6 separate regions of the Homo sapiens genome follow, and all the other regions are linked to region 4. Evidence: promoter capture Hi-C in human tissues and cell types (Jung and others, 2019). All regions are on one chromosome and are shown on one strand. The core of a region is centred on a gene start or on the middle of the fragment in contact, and the rest is flanking DNA. Distances in the headings are between cores, read along the strand shown. Region 1 overlaps RBM25 (RNA binding motif protein 25). Region 2 overlaps PSEN1 (presenilin 1). Region 3 has its middle 2.4 kb from the start of PTGR2. Region 4 holds the start of ACOT1 (acyl-CoA thioesterase 1). Region 5 overlaps PSEN1 (presenilin 1). Region 6 overlaps ZNF410 (zinc finger protein 410).

Region 1 (3,714 bases), core at 35-2,534, 420 kb after region 4:
GTACAGTGTCCAGAATACAGTAAACACAATAAGCAAATACAATCATCACGGGGCACACATGACTACTGAGTAACAAGTCTTCTTCCAGTGGTGGATGAGGAAATTGTCTTCCTCTCTACTTATGAGTTATAGGGTCCTTGTGTCCCCATCACTATTCCTGCCATCATCCCATACACACATCTGCCCCTCTACATTATGGCTGCTATGAGGTGAAATGGCCTACTCTGCTCCCTTCTGAAGGGGGCAGCTATGACTGTGCTCCAGAAATGTGGTCTAGTGTTGCCAGGTCTTCATAGAGGAAGTTTGGGGTAGGAATTTAGAGTACTCAATCTCTAGTCAGACTACATTGGTTCAAATTCTCTAGTCAGGCTACATAGGTTCAAATTGCACTGCTGCCTCTTACTAGCGATAGGTCCTTGGTTGGGTTACTTAACCTGAGCCTCAGTTCCCTCACCTCTAAAGTGGAGGCGATGTAGCTACACACCATAGCAGTAGGTACTAAGTGGGAATTAAAAGAGTTGGTATGTAGTTAAGTGCTCTGACAACTGACTGGTATATAACAAGTGCTTAATAAATACCTGGGAAGAGACTGGGCACAGTGGCTCACGCCTGTAATCCCAGCACTTTGGGAGGCCTAGGTAGGCAGATCACCTGAGGTCAGGAGTTTGAGACCAGCCGGGCCAACATGGTGAAACCCGTCAATACTAAAAATACAAAAATTAGCCAGGCGTGCGGGTGGGCACCTGTAATCCCAACTACTTGGGAGGCTGAAGCAGGAGAATTGCTTGAACCCAAGAAGTGGAGGTTACAGTGAGCCAAGATCGCGCCACTGTCACTCCATATAGCCTGGGAAACAGAGCAAGACTCTGTCTCAAAAAAAAAAAAAAAAAAAAAAAAAAAAAAAAAAGAAAAGAAGAAAGAAATTAAAAGAAAGAAATTTCTGTCACTTTCTCAATGATAGCAATAATTAATTAAAGAACTTTTGATCAGATTTCTATGAGCCAGATTTGACTTTAGTTGAAGAACTCTGTTGTAACACTAATTCACATCTGAGTCACACTTCAGAGAGATGTAGGCACAAAATGCAACCAAACTTCATTTAATTTACATAAAATGAAAAAGGTATAATATAAAGAAGTCAGACTTTTGTTAAGAGTGAAACAGTACTCAGGCTAAAAATTCAGTCTCCTCATTTATTCAAGAAATATTTACAAGGCCCCATGAGCTTTTTAGCAGAGCTGTTTGACAACACTAGCTCAACTGGTTTCCTCTCATTCTAATCAACGAGCCACAAAATCATAAACAGTGGTCTAAATACACTTCAAATATCAATATATTACAACAGATCAAAAAATCTAAAATTAACACTGACATGAAATCTTTACTATGTATGATAGGAACTCTGCTGAGGCCAAACGCTAGAACACAGTTTTATTTAAAAAATGTCTTCACTCAGGCCTAACTACGACACCCTCTACTCCAAGAAAAACGGGGCTGGAAGCTTCAGGAAAGTTCAGAATTCAGCCCCAAGGACTGAAATCTATTCACATTTCTCCTTTCCTCTGAGGCAATGAAGTTTTCACAAATGTTTTATCAGGTGTTCTAAATGACAGCTGCATCAAGCTAGCTAGGCAGCAGAAAAGGAATGTTATCTGGCTTTAGACACCATAAAATGCCTGGACACAAAGCAGCTAGACCTCACAATCCTTCTTTTTGACTATAAACCCCACGATGTCCCTCCCTGACATCTCTGGTGGCAGTTCCAAGTGCAAGTACTCCCAGTCATCTACCATTTCATATCATGCTTGATGATTTTTCCTTCCTTACTCATCTTCCCATTGCTGTCTTCCCGCTCTGCCCTTTGGACCGCTATTCCATTTTATACTACACATCAACAACTAAATTAGGTTTTTCCTCTTAACAGAAACCCTCCTCTATCTCCTAGAGCCCCGGCACTTCTCAGGCAGTCTCTCACTCTCAATGTCTTAATCTCCACAGGAATGACTTGTGGGTCTTCACTGTTTCTTTCTTGGTAAAAAAAAAAACAACTCCATGGACGTTCATGAGCTCTCACCACCTTATCCACTGTAAGAGCAGCTATCTGGCAAGTATCTAGTCTTTCCCCCCACTTAAATGAGTGCTCTGGCAACTATTTCCAGTATTTCTCTCCAATCTGACTCCCAATACCCAGGAATTTCCCATAGTCATACTATGCACCTTGCCATCGTCTGGGCTGACCTATCACATATAGACTTGAACTTTCTACACTCTGACCATAACCTCTCCTTTCAGTTGTTTTATTACAATTCGCCTTCCACAACTTCACTGGAACCACTAGTCCTTAATTCATTCAAACCACCAGCTCTATTCAGATACTATTTTCTTCTCTTCCTAACTTGGAGATCATAGTTCAATCTCTTGCTCAACCTTTACCATCAATTTTCTTCTCCTTTCCTTGTCTCACAAAATCACAGTGTTAACTACATGCTACCACTGACTGTAATCCCAAATTAAATGCAACGGGGATTTGATGTTTACTGTCAATACAACAGGTGTTTGGATACCTGTCCAAAAAGCAGCACATATGTACAATCTTGTGGCCATAAAAAACGAAATAGTGTCCTTTACAGGGACATGGATGGAGCTGGAGGCCACTATCCTTAGCAAACTAACACAGGAACAGAAAACCAAATACAGTATGTTTTCACTTATAAGCGGGAGCTAAATGATGAAAAAACATGAACGAAGAGAGGGGAACAACACACAATGGGGCCTATCGTAGGGCAGAGGGTGGGAGGAGGGAGAGGATCAGGAAAAATAACTAATGAGTACTAGGCTTAACACCTGGGTGATGAAATAATCTGTTCAACAAACCCCCATGACACAAGTTTACCTATGTAACAAACCTGCACATGTATCCGACTTAAAACACACACACACACACACACACACACACACACACACGTATCAGTTCCTGTAGTAATCCTTGTGATGCTTAACCTAACTGCTATCAATGCCATCAGATGTTCTATCTCCTCTACCTCCATTATCCTTTCTACATATCTAATTCAAACAAGTACATCAAGGTTCCAGTACCTGTATACCTATCTCTCTGCTACTACAGGTCATTTGTTCTACTTTTATGCTTCTAGCACATTGTGCTGGGCATAGGGAAAACATGAATGGAACTGGTGGAAAAGAATGAAGCCTTATTTATTTATTTAGAGATGGGGTCTCACTCTGTCACCAGGCTGGAGTGCAATGGCATGATCTCGGCTCACTGCAACCTCCACCTCACAGGTTCAAGTGATTCTCCTGCCTCAGACTCCCCGAGTAGCTGGGACTATAGGCACACGCCACCACGCACAGCTAATTTTTGTATTTTTCATAGAGACGGGGTTTCACCATGCTGGCCAGGATGGTCTCGATCTCTTGACCTTGTGATCCACCCGCCTCAGCCTCCCAAGTACTGGGATTACTCAAGTTTTAATTCAGGCCTAAAAAAGATTCTGGAACAAAGACAGGCAGGAAGTGAATCAAATTCAAAAGTGAGTTTATATAGATGTTAATTAAAATATTAATAATAGTGCATTTCTGGCCAGGTGTGGTGGCTGATGCCTGTAATCTCAACACTTTGGGAGGCTGAGGCAGGAGGATCACTTAAGCCTAGGAATTTAAGACTACCCTGGGCAACGTGGTGAGACCCCATCTATA
Region 2 (3,679 bases), core at 746-3,245, 330 kb after region 4:
CCAACAATAACACAAAAGTACATATAAGCAAACACATGACATATGAGGTTATGGTGGGAACCAAATGCCAGCAGCAAGCTGAGTCCAATCTGGTCACAGTAATTTTTTTTTTTTTTTTTTTTTTTGAGACAGAGTCTTGCTCTGTCACCCAGGCTGGAGTACAGTGGCATGATCTCGGCTCACTGCAAGCTCCGTCTCCTGGGTTCACGCCATTCTCCTGCCTCAGCCTCCCGAGTAGCTGGGACTACAGGCGCCCGCCACCATGCCTGGCTAATTTTTTGTATTTTTTTTAGTAGAGGTGGGGTTTCACTGTGTTAGCCAGGATGGTCTCGATCTCCTGACCTCGTGATCCGCCCGCCTCAGCCTCCCAAAGTGCTGGGATTACAGGCGTGAGCCACCACGCCCGGCCTGGTCACAGTAATTTTAAACAAGATACTTGACATTTATGTCTCTCTGGCTTTTTATCACAATAATTTTATCCATGTTTCTAATACTCAGGCTTCTTGAAGAACTTATGAAAGAAACACACAATCAAAGAAGCTGAACGACCACCTTGTTATTTCTGAGGTCAACCAAGTTTCATTATAGGATAACCCAACCAAATGATCAAAAGTTAACAGAAACCAGGCAGGCAATACACTGTTTAACTAAATCCAGATCTAAAGAAGAAAAACTGAAGGGCAACCACCAAGTATGAGGTTTATGGATTAGTTTTTTATCTTCATTTTTTCTAAAAACAGGGTCTCACTACGTTGCCCAGGCCAGACTCAAACTCCTGGGCTCAAGCAATCCTCCCGCCTCAGCCTCCCAAAGTGCTAGGATTACAGGCATGAGCCACTGCACCCAGCCTGTTTATGGATTTCCATAGCCTTTTGGAAATGAAGCCACCAGCGATTTATTAGGTTTTCTTTCTTTATGCAAGTATGAAAAAATATAGCTACAAGCTCCTTTGTTTTAGCAGTTAATAGTAACATGAAAATCAATGTCCAGCTAACTTTTTCTGTAAATGGCCAGGGAGTAAACATTTCAGGTTTTGTGTGTCACATATTCTTCCTTGTTCTTTTTTTTTTTTTTTAAATGTAAAAAGCATTTTTAGCTTATAAGCTGTACAAAAACAAGCCATGGGCCATATTTGGCTTCAAGCAGTAGTTTGCTAACCCCATGTTAATTATCATAAATAGTATATTTGTTAAATAGTCCTAAAATAATATTTTTTTAAAAATCACTTTTCATTTCACCTTAACACAAACACCTTACATCAACAGGAAAATAAGCAGATTTCGTTTAAATTAAAAAAAAAAAAAAAGGCCAGGCATGGTGGCTCACACCTGTAATCCCAGCACTTTGGGAGTCGGAGGTGGGTGGATCACCTGAGGTCAGGAGTTCAAGACCAGCCTGACCAACATGGAGAAACCCTGTCTCTACTAAAAATACAAAATTAGCCCGGTGTGGTGGTGCATGTCTATAATCCCGGCGACTCGGGAGGCTGAGGCAGGAGAATTGCTTGAATCCAGGAGGCGGAGGCTGTGGTGAGCCGAGATCGTGCCATTGCACTCCAGCCTGGGCAATGAGAGCGAAACTCTGTCTCAAAAAAATAAAATAAAAAATAAATACAAAAAAATATGTTTTTTAATGTAGTCTAGGGTGGTCTTGAATTCCTGGGCTCAAGCAATCCTCCTGCTTCTACCTCCCAAAGTCCTGGGATTATAGTCATGCCTGGCTGGAAAATATGCAGATTTAAAAATTAACATAATATACCCGCCCCCAACTGATATGAAATCAAAAAGCTTTAGATAAAATGATCTACCTCAAGGAATTGTTAGTTTCCCTTCTAGTTAAGCTCCCAGAGTGAACCACTTCTACTAATGACCACTAGGTAAGAATAAATTAGCTCAAAGAGTAGGTGTATATTTTTTCTGTCAAACGACAGAAGTAAAAAACAAAAATGCTCATACATTTCCTGTCAGTAAGAGCATTTTGCAAACTGAATACCCTTAACTGGGAGACAGTATTAAAATGCATGAAAGAATTATTTATTGATTTTTAGAGAACAAATAGCCAGGATGACTGATTTAAAACTTTTTATATTCATGCTTATATCCACTTCAGGGAAAAAGTACTCATCGGCATTGCGTTGTGGTTTTCTTACATTCTGTTAAAAATGTAAGAAAAATGTAAGAAAAAATTCTTACATTCTGTTGAAAAAACAAAACGAAGGCCAGGTGCGGTGGCTCATGCCTGTAATCCCAGCACTTTGGGAGGGTGAGGCGGGTAGATCACCTGAGGTCACAAGTTTGAGACCAGCCTGGCCAACATGGTGAAACCCTCTCTCTACTAAAAATACAAAAATACAAAAAATTAGCTGGGCGTGGTGGCAGGCGTCTGTAATCCCAGCTACTCAGGAGGCCGAGGCAGGAGAATCGCTTGAACCTGGGAGGCGGAGGTTGCAGTGAGCCGAGATTGTGCCATTGCACTTCAGCCTGGGCAACAAGAGTGAAACTCCATCTCAAAAACAAAAACAAAAAAACCTCTCAAACTCAATGATTTATATAAAATCCTCAAATCTTCACCAGACATTTAGTATTACAAAAGAACAGATGCAATCTTGAACCTACCTGATCTACACAGGAGGTAAGGGTTTATACTCCTATTTTCCCACATATGTTGAACTGTTTCTAAAACATCTCAGAATGTCTCATATTCTGTGGTTATTAAATAGACTTGAGAACTTTTAAAAAAATACATGCAAATCATCTGTATCATTCCAATTTTACTATTATGTGCTGCTAAAGCGAGCACAGACGTTGAGTTTTAAAAATATTATATATGATAGGCTGGGCACGGTGGCTCACGCCTGTAATCCCAGCACTTTGGGAGGCCGAGGAGGGCAGATTACGAGGTCAAGAGATCGAGACAATCCTGGCTAACACGGTGAAACCCCGTCTCTACTAAAAATACAAAAAATTAGCCAGGCATGGTGGCGGGCGCCTAGAGTCCCAGCTACTCGGGAGGCTGAGGCAGGAGAATGGCGTGAACCCGGGAGGTGGAGCTTGCAGTGAGTCGAGATCACGCTACTGCACTCCAGCCTGGGTGACAGAGCAAGACTGTCTCAAAAAAAAAAAAAAAAAAAAAAAAAAAAAATATATATATATATATATATATATATATATATATATATATATATAGTATGTGATAGATATTTTAAAACAGAGTAAATGCTTCTTTCTGAGTATTAAATTAACATACATGTTTAATGTTGCTGCAGACTGAAAGTCTGGTCCTAATTCCTCACCCATCTCTGTACTCACACTTTTGCCACGGACTCACTTTGAGTAGAATGTATTTTCCCTTCTCCCAACCTGTGGCTCAACTAAAAATATGGAAAAAAAAAATTAGCCAGGTATAGTGGCGCATGCTTGTAATCTCAACTACTCGGGAGGCTGAGGCAGGAGAATTGCCTGAACCCAGGAGATGGAGGTTGCAGTGAGCTGAGATTGCGCCACTGCACTCCAGCCTGGGCAACAGAGCAAGACTTACCTCAAAAATAAAATAAAACAGGTCGGGTGCAGTGGCTCACGTCTGTAATCCCAGCACTTTGGGAGGCCGAGGCAGGTGGATCACTTGAGGTGGGGAGTTCAAGGCCAGCCTGGCCAATGTGGCGAAACCCCAACTCTACTAA
Region 3 (3,304 bases), core at 737-3,236, 310 kb before region 4:
AAGTCATGCATGGAGTAGCTGAAAGATGACTAGGTTGGTGAGCAAGGGAATAGTGATCAAACAGGTTGGAGTTCCTGGTAGCTTTATGTCTGAATATTTTTGCTTCTTTGGGAAAGCTTCAGGAAGGACTAGGAGAATTACACTACTTTGCAAACATTTTCAGACAGGAGCTAATCTCTTTTATCTGTCATGGACAGGTAGACAGACCTTCAATGCCTTTTGTAATGACTTAAACCAAATGATGAAAAATAAAATGCTCAAATAGACAAAAAGTAGTAGTATAAAATAAAGGTAATCTAGAACTTGATTTAAAAGAAACACTTTCAAAATAGAAAAGAAGCCCTGCAATATTAAATTAGTTTTGGGGCTGGACGCAGTGGCTCACGCCTGTAATCTCAGACCTTTGGGAGGCAGAGGCAGGTGGATTGCTTGAGTCAGGAGTTCGAGACCAGCCTGGGCAACGTGGTGAAACCGCATTTCTTCAAAAAATAAAAAATAAAATGAAATTAGCTAGGTGTGGTGGTGCTTGCTGGTAGTCTCTCAGCTGCTCAGTAGGCTGCAGCGAGCCTTGATCACACCACTGCACTCCAGCCTGGGTGACAGACTGATACCTTGTCTCAAAAATTTTAAATATATGTATGTGTATTAATTAGTTTTAGCTCTCTTGATTCTAGGGTCTGTGAACTCCTTGTAACAAGTGTGATTTTTCTCGCCAAAATGAGTTCCCAAAAATTCAAGAGATGAGTAGAGGATTTATAGGTACATTTCTATCCAGTTTATCCTCTTCTTCTAAATTTTCTCTAACACCAAGGATTACTATCATTTACATAATGCGTAGTTTGAGTTGGATAATGCCTTATATGATTTTTTGCCTACATGATTTAATTTTCAAAACAGCCCTATTATTATTATTACCATTTTACGAATGAGGAAACCGAAGTTAAGCTAGTTAAGTTCTAAGTCAGGTTAAGTAACTAATAAGTAAAGGAGCAAGTTATCCTGCCTGAGTCCAAGCACCTGACCCTTTGTTATATTTGCCATAAATCTGGAATTCCCTACTCCTCCCTCTTTGCAGAACTTTGTACTGCCTCCTTCTCATCGTTCAAGCAATTCCTGAGAATCATTTTCTTTTTTTTCTTTTTTCTTTTCTTTTTTTTTTTTTTTTTTTTTGAGACGGAGTCTCTCTCTGTCGCCCAGGCTGGAGTGCAGTGGCACGATCTCGGCCTACTGCAACCTCTGCCTCCCGGGTTCAAGCAATTGAGCCTACTGAGTAGCTGGAACTACAGGTGCATGCCACCACACCCAGCTAATTTTTGTATTTTTAGTAGAAATGGGGTTTCATCATGTCGGCCAGGCTGGTCTCAAACTCCTGACCTCAGGTGATCCACCTGCCTTGGCCTCCCAAAGTGCTGGGATTAAAGGCATGAGCCACCACGCCCAGCCCTGAGAATCATTTTCTAGACTTCACTAGAAGGAAGTGTCAATTCTTCTCATCTCCATCTTATCAAAAAAAAATACATAGTATATATTGTTTCATTCAAGCATGATAAATATAGGCCAGGTGCAGTGGCTCACACTCATAATTCCAGCACTTAGGGAGGCGAGACAGGAGGATCACTTGAGGCCAGAAGTTTCAGACCAGCCTGGGCAACATAGGAGACCCCTATCTCTACAAAAAACAAACAACAACCAAAAAAAAAAACAAAAAGAAAAAAAATAGCCAGGTGTGGTGGCACACACCTGCAGTCCCAGCAGCTACTCATGAGGCTGAGGCAGGAGGATCGCTTAAACCCAGGAATTCCAAGTTGCAGCTAGCTATGATCTCATCACTACATTCCACCCTAGGTGCCAGAGTAAGACTTTGTCTCAAAAAAAGAAAAAAAAAAAAAAAAAAAGCCAGGCACTGTGGCTCAAACCTGTAATCCCAGAACTTTGGTAGGCCAAGAGGTAGGAAGATCGATTGAGCCCAGGAGTTCAACACCAGCCTAGGCAACATGGCAAAACCCACCTCTACAAAAAATTTTAAAAATTAGCCTGGTGTGATGTGTGTGCCTGTTGTCTCAGCTGCTTGACAGACTGAGGTGTGAGGATCACTTGAGCCCAGGAGGGCGAGGCTGCAGTGAGCTGTGTTTGCACCACTGCACTCCAGCCTGGGCAACAGAATGAGATTCTGTCTCTTAAAAAAAAAAATGCATAATAAATATAAATACTTGGCCGAGCGCAGTGACTCACGCCTGTAATCCCAGCACTTTGGGAGGCTGACGTGGGCGGATCACAAGGTCAGGAGATCAAGACCATCCTGGGTAACACGGTGAAACCCCGTCTCTACTAAAAATACAAAAAAATTAGCTGAGCGTGGTGGGGGCGCCTATAGTCCCAGCTACTCAGGAGGCTGAGGCAGGAGAATGGCATGAACCCGGGATGCAGAGCTTGCAGTGAGCAGAGATTGCACCACTGCACTCCAGCCTGGGCGACAGAGCAAGACTCCATCTCAGAAATAAATAAATAAATAAAATAAATATAAATACTTAATCTAATATGTTTGTATACTCATTCATTAAATTATTTTTTAGTTTTTTCATTCATTAAATTATTTTTAAATGAAAATAACCTCGTATGATAGCAAATTACTCAGGAGAAATCATTCAAGTTTGACCAACCTGCATGGTATATGACACTTAGTGCAACATCAAAGATTATTTGATGCTAAATAAAACATTTTTCCATGGAGGTGATAATTGTTCATAATGACACAAATTCAAACCCAAACATACATCCTAAAGAGATAACAGAACAAAGTAAGAGATAAAAACCACACCTGGCTGGGCTCGGTGGCTCATGCCTGTAATCCCAGCACTTTGGGAGGCTGAGGCAGGCGGATCACATGAGGTCAGGAGTTCGAGACCAGCCTGGCCAACATGGTGAAACCCTGTCTCCACTAAAAATACAAAATACAAAAATACAAATACAAATACAAAAAATTAGCCGGGCATGGTAGCGAGCGCCTATAAACCCAGCTACTCAGGAGGCTGAGGCAAAAGAATGGCTTGAACCTGGGAGGCAGAGGTTGCAGTGAGCCCAGATCACGTCACTATACTCCAGCCTGGGTGACAGAGCAAGACTCTGTCTCAAAAAAAAAAAAAAAAAAAAAAAAAAAAAAAAAATGCTGTAACCGAATCCTGTGAAACTCAAGCTTAAATAAATGCTTTTTCAGAAAAATTGAGCATTTAGAAAAAGGTCATATTTGTGCCTATTACAAGGTGGGTTCTCTGGAAAGCAAACCCTGATGGGGAGTTTGGTATGC
Region 4 (3,275 bases), core at 220-2,719:
GAGACGGAGTCTCACTCTATTGCCCAGGCTGGAGTGCGTGGCACGATCTTGGCTCACTGCAAACTCCGCCTCCTGGGTTCATGCCATTCTTCTGCCTCAGCGTCCCGAGTAGCTGGGACGACAGGCGCCCGCTACCACGCCCGGCTAATTTTTTGTATTTTTAGTAGAGACGAGTTTTCACCGTGTTAGCCAGGATGGCCTTGATCTCCTGACGTCGTGATCCGCCCGCCTCGGCTTCTCAAAGTGCTGGGATTACAGGCGTGAGCCAGCGCGCCCAGCCCTTACAATGTCTTTTAACTGAGCACTAGGTTTGAGGGACCTCTCAGTTTTGGAGCGGCAGGGGCAATTCCCCAACCAACTTTCCATTCCATTCCTGTCTCCTTACACTAACCTCCGGAATGTTGGAAGCTACATCCTTTCTCCGTATGAAAAGCGCAGGGACGAAAAAAAATAAAAATAAAAAAATAAGTGTAACTCCCCTCAAAGGGCCGGGCGCAGTGGCTCACCCTGCAATCCTAGCTCTTGGGGAGGCAGAGGCGGGAGGATAGCTTGGGTCCAGGAGTTCAAGACCTACCTGGGCAACATAGCCCGGGGTGGTGGTGGTGGGGCGGGAGGAGGGACACACACACAAGCGAAAAGAGCGGGGCGGGGCGAAGGGGACACACACACACACACAGTGGAAAGCGCAGGAACAGGGATGGGCAGAGGGGAACAATTAGCGGAGGTGAGTCACCTGGCGGCAGGAAGAGCGTGCCTCGCACCCGGCCCGCGCGCACCGGCTCGCGCCGCACCCCGGGCGGGAGGAAGTAGCGCTCGTGCCGCACCCGGCACAGCAGCCGCCCGGGGTCGGGGTCGTGGCCATCCAGCACCTCCAGCTCCACGGCCAAGGGCGTTCGCACGTCGCGCTTCACCAGCCGCACCAAGGGTTTCTCGGGCTCCAAGGCCCAGAGCAGCCCCATGGGCTCAAGCCCCGCGAAGCTGCCGCCCAGCGCGGGCGCGCGCTCCAGGTCCAGCTCGCCAAGGGTGTCGGCGCGGTAGCGCGCGTGGGCCTGGAAAAGCGCGCCCTTCTCGTCGCGCAGGGACGCGCGCAGCGTGACCGGCTGCTCCGGGGCTAGGCCGCGCACGGCGATTCGCACCGGTTCGTCCCAGCAGCAGCGGCCCGCGGGCTCCAGGATCAGCGTCGCCGCCATCCGAGCAGGAACCCAAATAATCCGGCCAAACTGCCTCAGCTGTGGAGACCCCTGCAACTCTGCCCAACTCTTCCTCTCGGGCTGCCGTCGCAGGCTAAACGCCCACTAGGGCAGAGCTGTCTGCTAATGTGAGCGGGGAAGGCCAGAGTCCAGCCGATCAGCCAGACCAAATATAGACACACTGGAACTTGCTTAAAGTCTCCTGTGTTGAAACCTCCACTTTATGTTGGAAAGCAACTTCCTAGGTTTGCTTTTCAGAAGCTTGCTGGCTCGCGGAATGGGCTGGGCCAGGACTGGTTCGTCCCGGCTACTCGGGAGGCTGAGGCAGGAGAATGGCGTGATCCCGGGGGGTGGAGCTTGCAGTTGGCCAAGATCATGCCACTGCACTACAGCCTGGGCGACAGAGCGAAAGTCCGTCTCAGAAAAAAAAAAAAACAACAACAACCAGGCAGCTAGCAGTCTCCAGGCTCCAAACTCCTGATGGCGAAGAGGAATGCAGGACTGGAGTTGGTTTTGATCACTTTGTTGAATAATTCACACTCATTACTAATCTTAGGGCTTTTCTTTCAAAATCTGCACCATGGTGTTTTGCTTTCGTGTTCTCTGTATATGCCTATCCTCCACATCACTCCCACATCGAAGGGTGCTGGCTTCTTACTAGCTGTGTGACCTCTGAGCTTTATTCCTTACAGGTGTAAAAATAGCCAAATGAGGTAATAGTTATTAATTTCTCGAACTCCTGACTTTGTGATCCGCCCGCCTCGGCCTCCCAAAGTGCTGGGATTTACAGGCGATGAGCCACCGCGCCCGGCCAATAGTTATTATTTTCTTATACTGGTTTCTCATTTTTGTCCCAGTCAGGCAAGTGTTACCTCTCATCTTTTTTTTTTTTTTTTTTTTTTTTTAAAGAGACAGGGTCTCACTACGTTGCCAGTCTGGAGTACAGCGGCGGTTTACCATCACTGCGCACTTACAAGCCTCAAACTCCTGGGCTAAAGCCATCTTCCTGCCTCAGCCTCTCAAACACCTCAAGGGACTACCGGCGCTCCCCATGCATTGGGCTTTTTTCTACTTTTTCATAGGCTATTGGTTCCAACCAGAGGTGGTTTTTTTTTTTCATCAAACTTAAGCTTTAGGCCCCTCCCAAGCCCTTGTACCTGATTTCATAATTTCCTATCTTGGTAATTAGAGAAACCTATAAATGCGTAAGCTTCAAACTCACAAAACCTGTGTTTGCCTCTGCTCCTAATAAGGCTGTCCTCAAGGTAAGCCTTTTTATCTCTTTCCAAATGCTCTCATGTCCCATGTCCCATGTCATTATCATACAACTCCCTGTTAGTTGTAATTACCTTTGTATAGGTTCTGTGGCACACATCAAGTATATTCTGTGCATAGAAGTCTCAGGAACTAAAGAAGGTAAATAATAGTAGCTAATTGTTAATACTTACAAGAACCGTAGTAGTAAATTAAGGCCCAGAGAATTTAACTGATTTTCTGAAGATCATACAGCTGGGAAGTGGAAGTTGGGTGAGGTGGCTCACGCCTATAATCCCAGTTTACTTGGAGGCTGAGGTGGCAGGGTTTCTTAAGGCCAGGAGTTTCAGACCAACCTGGATAAGACCCTGTCTCTAACAAGAAAAAGGGGCCAGGCGCGGTGGCTCGCGCCTGTAATCCCAGCACTTTGGGAGGCCGAGGCGGGTGGATCACGAGGTCAGCAGATCGACACCATCCTGGCTAACACAGTGAAACTCCGTCTCTACTAAAAAAAAACCAAAAATACAAAAAATTCGCCGGGCGTGGTGGCAGGCGCCTGTAGTCCCAGCTACTCGGGAGGCTGGGGCAGGAGAATGGCGTGAACCCTGGAGGCAGTGCTTGCAGTGAGCCAAGATGGCGCCACTGCACTCCAGCCTGGGCAAAAAAAAAAAAAAAAAAAAAAAAAAAAAAAAAAAAAAGAAAGAAGAAAAAGAAAAGAAAAAGGGAGAGGGTTCATATGTTTGAAATCTGATTCTCAAGGCTGGGCTCTGAACAACTATGTTTAACTGTCTCTCACAGGATGTTGAAGAAGATTTGGAAAAGAAACTCATA
Region 5 (3,600 bases), core at 951-3,450, 350 kb after region 4:
GGGGTCAGCCCCCCGCCCGGCCAGCCGCCCCGTCCGGGAGGTGAGGGGCGCCTCTGCCCGGCCGCCCCTACTGGGAAGTGAGGAGCCCCTCTGCCAGGCCAGCCGCCCTGTCCGAGAGGGAGGTGGGGGGGTCAGCCCCCCGCCCGGCCAGCCGCCCCGTCCGGGAGGTGAGGGGCGCCTCTGCCCGGCCGCCCCTACTGGGAAGTGAGGAGCCCCTCTGCCAGGCCAGCCGCCCCGTCGGAGAGGGAGGTGGGGGGGTCAGCCCCCCGCCCGGCCAGCCGCCCCGTCCGGGAGGTGAGGGGCGCCTCTGCCCGGCCAGCCGCCCCGTCCGGGAGGGAGGTGGGGGGGTCAGCCCCCCGCCCGGCCAGCCGCCCCGTCCGGGAGGGAGGTGGGGGGGTCAGCCCCCCGCCCGGCCAGCCGCCCCGTCCGGGAGGGAGGTGGGGGGGTCAGCCCCCCGCCCGGCCAGCCGCCCCGTCCGGGAGGGAGGTGGGGGGGTCAGCCCCCCGGCCGGCCAGCCGCCCTGTCCGGGAGGGAGGTGGGGGGGGGTCAGCCCCCCGCCCGGCCAGCCGCCCCGTCTGGGAGGGAGGTGGGGGGATCAGCCCCCCGCCTGGCCAGCCGCCCCGTCCGGGAGGTGAGGGGCGCCTCTGCCCGGCCGCTCCTACTGGGAAGTGAGGAGCCCCTCTGCCCGGCCAGCCGCCCCGTCCGGGAGGGAGGTGGGGGGGTCAGCCCCCCGCCCGGCCAGCCGCCCCGCCCGGGAGGTGAGGGGCACCTCTGCCCGGCCGCCCCTACTGGGAAGTGAGGAGCCCCTCTGCCCGGCCACCACCCCGTCTGGGAGGTGTGCCCAACAGCTCATTGAGAACGGGCCAGGATGACAATGGCGGCTTTGTGGAATAGAAAGGCGGGAAAGGTGGGGAAAAGATTGAGAAATCGGATGGTTGCCGTGTCTGTGTAGAAAGAAGTAGACATGGGAGACTTTTCATTTTGTTCTGTACTAAGAAAACTTCTTCTGCCTTGGGATCCTGTTGATCTGTGACCTTACCCCCAACCCTGTGCTCTCTGAAACATGTGCTGTGTCCACTCAGGGTTGAATGGATTAAGGGCGGTGCAAGATGTGTTTTGTTAAACAGATGCTTGAAGGCAGCATGCTCGTTAAGAGTCATCACCACTCCCTAATCTCAAGTACCCAGGGACACAAACACTGCGGAAGGCCGCAGGGTCCTCTGCCTAGGAAAACCAGAGACCTTTGTTCACTTGTTTATCTACTGACCTTCCCTCCACTATTGTCCTATGACCCTGCCAAATCCCCCTCTGTGAGAAACACCCAAGAATTATCAATAAAAAATAAATTAAAAAAAAAAAATACAAAAATTAGCCAGACATAGTGGCACACACCTGCAGTCCCAGCTATTTGGGAGGCTGAGGCAGGAGAATCACTTCAACCTGAGAGGCGGAGGTTGTGGAGAGCTGAGATCGCACCATTGCACTCCAGCCTGAGCAACAGAGCGAGACTCCATCTCAAAAAAACAAAAAAGGTAAGCTGAGAACATCTGTACATTTCCCTCCAAATACTTCAACTTTAGCCTAAATTTTATCTCACTCTTTAAAACTTGTCTGTCTTGGCCAAGACAAACAATACCAGTGGGAGATGTACACTGGGATTCCATATTAAGCTTTAAATTAAGGACCAGAGTAAATATTAAATAATTGAAATTCTCATCATTCTTGAGAGATGCTTTTCACCTCGGTTTTTTGGCAAAGGAAGAAGGAGATGTTCTTATTTATTTCTTTTTTTAATTTTATTTATTTATTTTTGGGAGATGAAGCCTCACTTTGTCGCCCAGGCTGGAGTGCAGTAGCATGGTCTTGGCTCACTGCAACCTCCACCTCCCAGATTCAAGCAATTCTCCTGCCTTAGCCTCCCGAGTAGCTGGGATTACAGGCACCCACCACCAACGCCCAGGTGATTTTTGTATTAGAGATGAAGTTTCACCATGTTGGCCAAGCTGGTCTTGAACTCCTGATCTCAAGTGATCCACCCTCCTTAGCCTCCCACAGTGCTGGGATTATAGGCGTGAGCCACCATGCCCGGCCTAATTTTAATTTTTTTAACTGTACCTTCTAGGAGCCCCCAAATATTTTTTTTTTAATTATTTTTTGAGATAGGGCCTCACTGTGTTGCCCAGGCTGGGGTACAGTGGCATGATCGTAGCTCACTGCAATCTCGAACCACTGGGCTCAAGCCATACTCCCACCTCAGCCTCCCTAGTACCTAGGACTATAGGCGTGGGTACACCACCATGCCTGGCTAATTTTTTAATTTTTTTTTTTTCTTTTTGTAGAGGTGGGGGTCTCACTCTGTTGCCCAAGCTGGTTTTGAACTCCTGGCTTCAAGTGATCCTCTGGTCTCAGCCATACTGGTGAGAGTCACCGTGCCCAGTCTTGCTTATTTTAAAAATAGCATTTTTCTGAATCAAAAGTAACATATGCTTGTAACACTTAAGAAACACAGAAACACTAAAAGAAGAAAACTATTCTAAAGGCCAGTGACAACCAAAATTAATACCAACATTTCCCTTTCAGGCCAGGCACAGTGGCTCACGCCTGTTATCCCAGCAGTTTGGGAGGCTGAGACAGGTGGATTGCCTGAGGTCAGGAGTTCAAGACCAGCCTGACCAACATGCCAAAACCCCGTCTCTACTAAAAATACGAACATTAGCTAGGCGTGGTGGCAGGTGCCTGTAGTCCCAGCTACCATGGAGGTTGAGGTGGGAGGATTGCTTGAACCCAGGAGGTATAGGGTGCAGTGAGCCGAGACAGTGCCACTACATTCCAGCCTGACTGACAAAGTGAGACATTGTCTCAAAAAAAAATACGAAACAAAATAAAACCGTTTCCCTTTCAGACATGTTTTCTATCTGCACGTATAGGCGTGTGTAAAGACCTTAACAGTGAGAATCAACTAGTGTACTGTTTACATTCTGCTTTCACAAATGTAATCTTTTATTACAAACATATTCTCATGCCACCAAATATTATTTGAAAATATGATTTTTTTTTAAGAGACTGGGGTCTCACTATGTTTCCCAGGCTAGACTGGAAAACCTGGGCTCAAGCAATCATCTCGTCTCAGGGTCCCAAGTAACTGGGTCTACAGGTCCGTGCCACTGCACCTGGCGTGAAACTATGATTGATTGACTGATTGATTGATTGATTTTGAGATGGAGTTTTGCTCTTGTTGCCCAGGCTGGAGGGCAATGGCGCAATCTCACCGCAACCTCCACTCCCCAGATTCAAGCGATTCTCCTGCCTCAGCCTCCTGAGTAGCTGGGATTACAGGCACTCGCCACCACGCCCAGCTAATTTTTTTGTATTTTTAGTAGAGACAGGATTTCTCCATGTTGGTCAGGCTGGTCTCGATCTTCTGACCTCAGGTGATCCGCCCACCTCAGCCTCCTAAAGTGCTGGGATTACATGCGTGAGCCACCACGCCCAGCTGAAACTATGATTTTTAAATGACAAAATAATAGTCTACTCATACGGATAAACCCACAATTGAACCTTTGCCTTATGCATGGAATCTGTATTGTTTTCCCTTTCTTT
Region 6 (3,398 bases), core at 95-2,594, 360 kb before region 4:
ATTCCGTTTTATAGATACAATAAGAATATTAATATAATCATAAAATAGGAAAAATGAATACATAGAATAAGGCAAGGCTAAGAAATCACTGAAACTCCTCCTGCTCAAGAATGAAGATTATCAATATATGGTCAAATAAATATAACGCAAATTTTTCCCTAAAAAAAAAAAAAAATCCCTCAGAAAAGAGTGTATTTGAGTTCTATCATGTTGGCCAGGCTGGTCTTGAACTCCTGACCTCCAGTGATCTGCCCACCTTGGCCTCCCAAAGTGCTGGGATTATAGGTGTGAACCACTGCGCCCGGCTGCCGTATGGTTTCTGTTACAACTACTCAGCTTTGCCATAGTAGCAGCCTTAGACAATTTGTAAGTAATGTGGATGCCTATGTTCCCATAAAACTTTAATTATAAAAACAGGTGGGGATTTGGCCCAAAGGCCTTTGCTGATCTGATATACAACATCTTATGCAAAATTAAAACGTTTCTGTATTTCAAACAACTTAGACTGTAAGTGAAGATAACATGCTCTGAAAAACTATGCTAGAGGACTCATAAAGTGACTTCAGTGTCAACAATGACAAAAATATTTATGTTAAAAATGCATTAAAATATTGAATAAAATCACTTCATTACATGTTAGTGCAAGGGTGTCCAATCTTTTGGCTTCCCTGAGCCACACTGAAAGAAGAAATGTCTTGGACCACACATAAAATATACTAATACTAATGACAGCTGGTGAGCTTTAAAAGCAAACAAACAAAAAAATCTCATAATGTTTTAAGAAAGTTTACGAATTTGTGTTGGGCTGCATTCAAAGGTATCCTGGGCCACACGTGCCCACAGGCCGTATGTTGGACAAGCTTGTGTTAGTGGGTGAAAGCAATATTGATATATTTCATATGATTTAAAATGTATATGTGGGACCACGCACGGTGGCTCACGCATGTAATCCCAGCACTGCGGGAGGCAGAGGCAGGCAGATCACCTTGGGTCAGGAGTTTGAGACCAGCCATGGCCAACACGGTGAAACCCTGTGTCTACTAGAAATACAAAAATTAGCTGGGCATGGTGGCATGCACATGTAGTCCCAGCTACTCGGGAGGCTGAGGCAGAGAATCACTTGAGCCCAGGAGGCAGAGTTTGCAGTGAGCCGAGATTGCGCCGCTGCACTCCAGCCTGGGCGACAGACTGAGACTCGGTCTCAAAAAAAAAAAAAAAATTAAAATGTGTATGTATAACCAAAATCATAAAGCTTCCAAATAGCAACCTATAATGTTAATTTTATCTACATGCTTAAAAGTTTACATAACTAAGTTAGAAAAAAATAAAAGGCTTTTAGGGTATTATCTTGTTGGAAAATAAAAGATTGTCTTATATTTGGGGTGATTTTTTTTTTTTTTGGGAGACCAAGTTTCGCTCTTGTTGCCCAGGCTGGAGTGCAGTGGTGCGATCTCCACTCACTGCAACCTCCACCTCCCGGGTTCAAGCAGTTCTGTCTCAGCCTTCCTGAGTAGCTGGGATTACATGCATGCGCCACCACGCCCAGCTAATTTTGTATTTTTAGTAGAGACGGGATTTCTCCACGTTGGTCAGGCTGGTCTCGAATTCCTGACCTCAGATGATCTGCCTGCCTCGGCCTCCCAAAGTGCAGGGATTACAGGCATGAGCCACAATGCCCAGCCTATTTGGGGTGATTTTATATTCAGGCATACAAAGTAGTTGTTAAGATAGTAAGGCAACATACTTTGAGAGTAAGAAAAACATCCACACAATGCTTTGCTGATTATAACATTTCCCAGATAGAATGTTACATAATCTCCATAACAAGCCAGTCAGGAAAGCTGCCTGATCTCTATGTTCAGATCGTAAGAAAATTGAAGCTAAGGGAGGTTAAACTGCCCAAGGCAGGGAACCAGTAAATGATGGTGCCAGGCCTGGATCCCAGGGCTCCCAGATTCTAAATTGCAAGCTCCCCTCCCTACGCTGCTTCTCATTGGCAAATATGACACTATTTCTTCAATGTAAGAGGAAATGCTGAAGGTTTCAGCATCTGGAGATTGGCACATATATCTCAGGAAGAATCTGAACTTTAAGGGTCCCACCAAAATGTTAAAATGAACCATTCTAAGTAGCACTATGGTAGTCATAAACAGAACTAAGTATTTTGAAAACAAACAGTTTAGAGTTTGGCTGGGGATGGTTGCTCACACCTAAAATCCCAGCACTTAGGGAGCCAGAGGCAGGAGGAGACCCTGAGTCCAGGAGTTTGAGACCTGTCTGGCAACAGAGCAAAACCTCATTCTCCATAAAAAGGGAAAAAAAAAGACCAAAAAAAAAAAAGATTTAATGTTTCAAAATATTCATAGGGAACTCTAGTTCTCTATGAGAAATTTTAACTTTTTATTTTCATTTGAATGGTAATCAAAAAATAATAATAAGCATATACTAGATAATCTGCATAAACTCCAAACAACTGTGTACTAAGTGCTTAAGCTTAGTTTGTGATAATGATAGCATTAAACCATGTTGTATTGAGTTGTGTCACATGTTAATGAGAAAACACAGAGGCAGACCTAAAAAAGTATCCATGACATGCTACATAAGCAAAGATTCTGCAGTGGTCTGAATAGAGCCGTGGTTCTCAAGCTTTAACATGTATCAGAACCAAGTTTTTGACTCAGTAGGTCTGGCATGGGCCTGAGAGTTTATATTTCTCAGTTCCCACGTGACGTCAATGATCCAGTGACAATGCTTTGAAAATTACTAGAACAGAGAAAAGTGACACAGAGTAAGTAGTATAGGCATGCTGAACTGAAAAGAAAAAGCATTAAAACCATCATAGCTAATTGTTAAACTGCCATGAGCAGCAATTTAGTTTCAGCAAAACATAATCCTCTGCCACAATGACTTAATGTTATTTTTATTTTCATGGATTTGGTAGTTTTATTCCTATTAACTGATAAAAACTGTTTTGATTTCATGATGGTATAAGAGCTCTAAGTATATGAAGTTTACACAGAATTTATGTTTTTGCATATTTAAGAGACATTACAATAAAAACAATTCAAACCCCAGGATGTATATTATTTTTTCTTTAAAAGGGGCTCTGTACATTATTTAAAGTTGAGAATTCAGAATACTAGTTGGTTTTGAACACAAATCTGGCATGACCAAGTTATTTTATAGAAAATAAAATTTAAACAATTTACAGATTTCTAGCCTTCTGCTCTCATCAATAGAATAATTTAAATTATATACAACTCAAACCAGCCACTGCATTACCAAAATCTCTTTGCACAGAATAGTGGCAAGGAAAATGCCGACGGGCCTCACCATTGCTGCTGGTTTTTGCATTCTTTGCCAGTTGTGCACGAGTAGCAGCAATCAAACTGTCATGG

What was found. The method cuts DNA at HindIII sites, captures the fragments that hold promoters and counts their contacts. A contact is called where the count stands out against the background at its distance.
Region 1: a fragment that was not itself captured here is called in contact with the fragment with the promoter of ACOT1 in region 4 in 1 of the 25 tissues and cell types used here (dorsolateral prefrontal cortex).
Region 2: a contact is called between a fragment that was not itself captured here and the fragment with the promoter of ACOT1 in region 4, in 2 of the 25 tissues and cell types used here (dorsolateral prefrontal cortex and mesenchymal stem cells).
Region 3: a fragment that was not itself captured here is called in contact with the fragment with the promoter of ACOT1 in region 4 in 2 of the 25 tissues and cell types used here (dorsolateral prefrontal cortex and mesenchymal stem cells).
Region 5: a contact is called between a fragment that was not itself captured here and the fragment with the promoter of ACOT1 in region 4, in 1 of the 25 tissues and cell types used here (liver).
Region 6: a contact is called between a fragment that was not itself captured here and the fragment with the promoter of ACOT1 in region 4, in 2 of the 25 tissues and cell types used here (dorsolateral prefrontal cortex and spleen).

What each region holds. Positions count from the first base shown.
Region 1 is chr14:73,114,404-73,118,117 of GRCh38, reverse strand. All of the region lies in intron 18 of RBM25 (RNA binding motif protein 25), which reads right to left. Among named protein-coding and RNA genes, the nearest start is that of PSEN1, 20 kb to the left of the region's middle. The HindIII fragment of the contact is 4,963 bases long and covers 1-3,714 here.
Region 2 is chr14:73,201,925-73,205,603 of GRCh38, reverse strand. All of the region lies in intron 8 of PSEN1 (presenilin 1), which reads right to left. Among named protein-coding and RNA genes, the nearest start is that of PAPLN, 34 kb to the left of the region's middle. The HindIII fragment of the contact is 4,667 bases long and covers 1-3,679 here.
Region 3 is chr14:73,847,828-73,851,131 of GRCh38, reverse strand. No RefSeq gene overlaps it. Among named protein-coding and RNA genes, the nearest start is that of PTGR2, 2.4 kb to the left of the region's middle. The HindIII fragment of the contact is 4,503 bases long and covers 1-3,304 here.
Region 4 is chr14:73,535,337-73,538,611 of GRCh38, reverse strand. ACOT1 (acyl-CoA thioesterase 1) reads right to left here and starts at 1,469. Exons shown (of 3, transcript NM_001037161.2): 1 at 734-1,469. The coding sequence starts at 1,190. All of the region lies in intron 1 of HEATR4 (HEAT repeat containing 4), which reads left to right. The HindIII fragment of the contact is 14,338 bases long and covers 1-3,275 here.
Region 5 is chr14:73,181,053-73,184,652 of GRCh38, reverse strand. The region is part of intron 5 of PSEN1 (presenilin 1); the gene reads right to left. Among named protein-coding and RNA genes, the nearest start is that of PSEN1, 46 kb to the right of the region's middle. The HindIII fragment of the contact is 5,864 bases long and covers 1-3,600 here.
Region 6 is chr14:73,898,198-73,901,595 of GRCh38, reverse strand. It overlaps ZNF410 (zinc finger protein 410), which reads right to left. Exons shown (of 12, transcript NM_021188.3): 5 at 3,334-3,398. Among named protein-coding and RNA genes, the nearest start is that of ZNF410, 13 kb to the right of the region's middle. The HindIII fragment of the contact is 5,178 bases long and covers 1-3,398 here.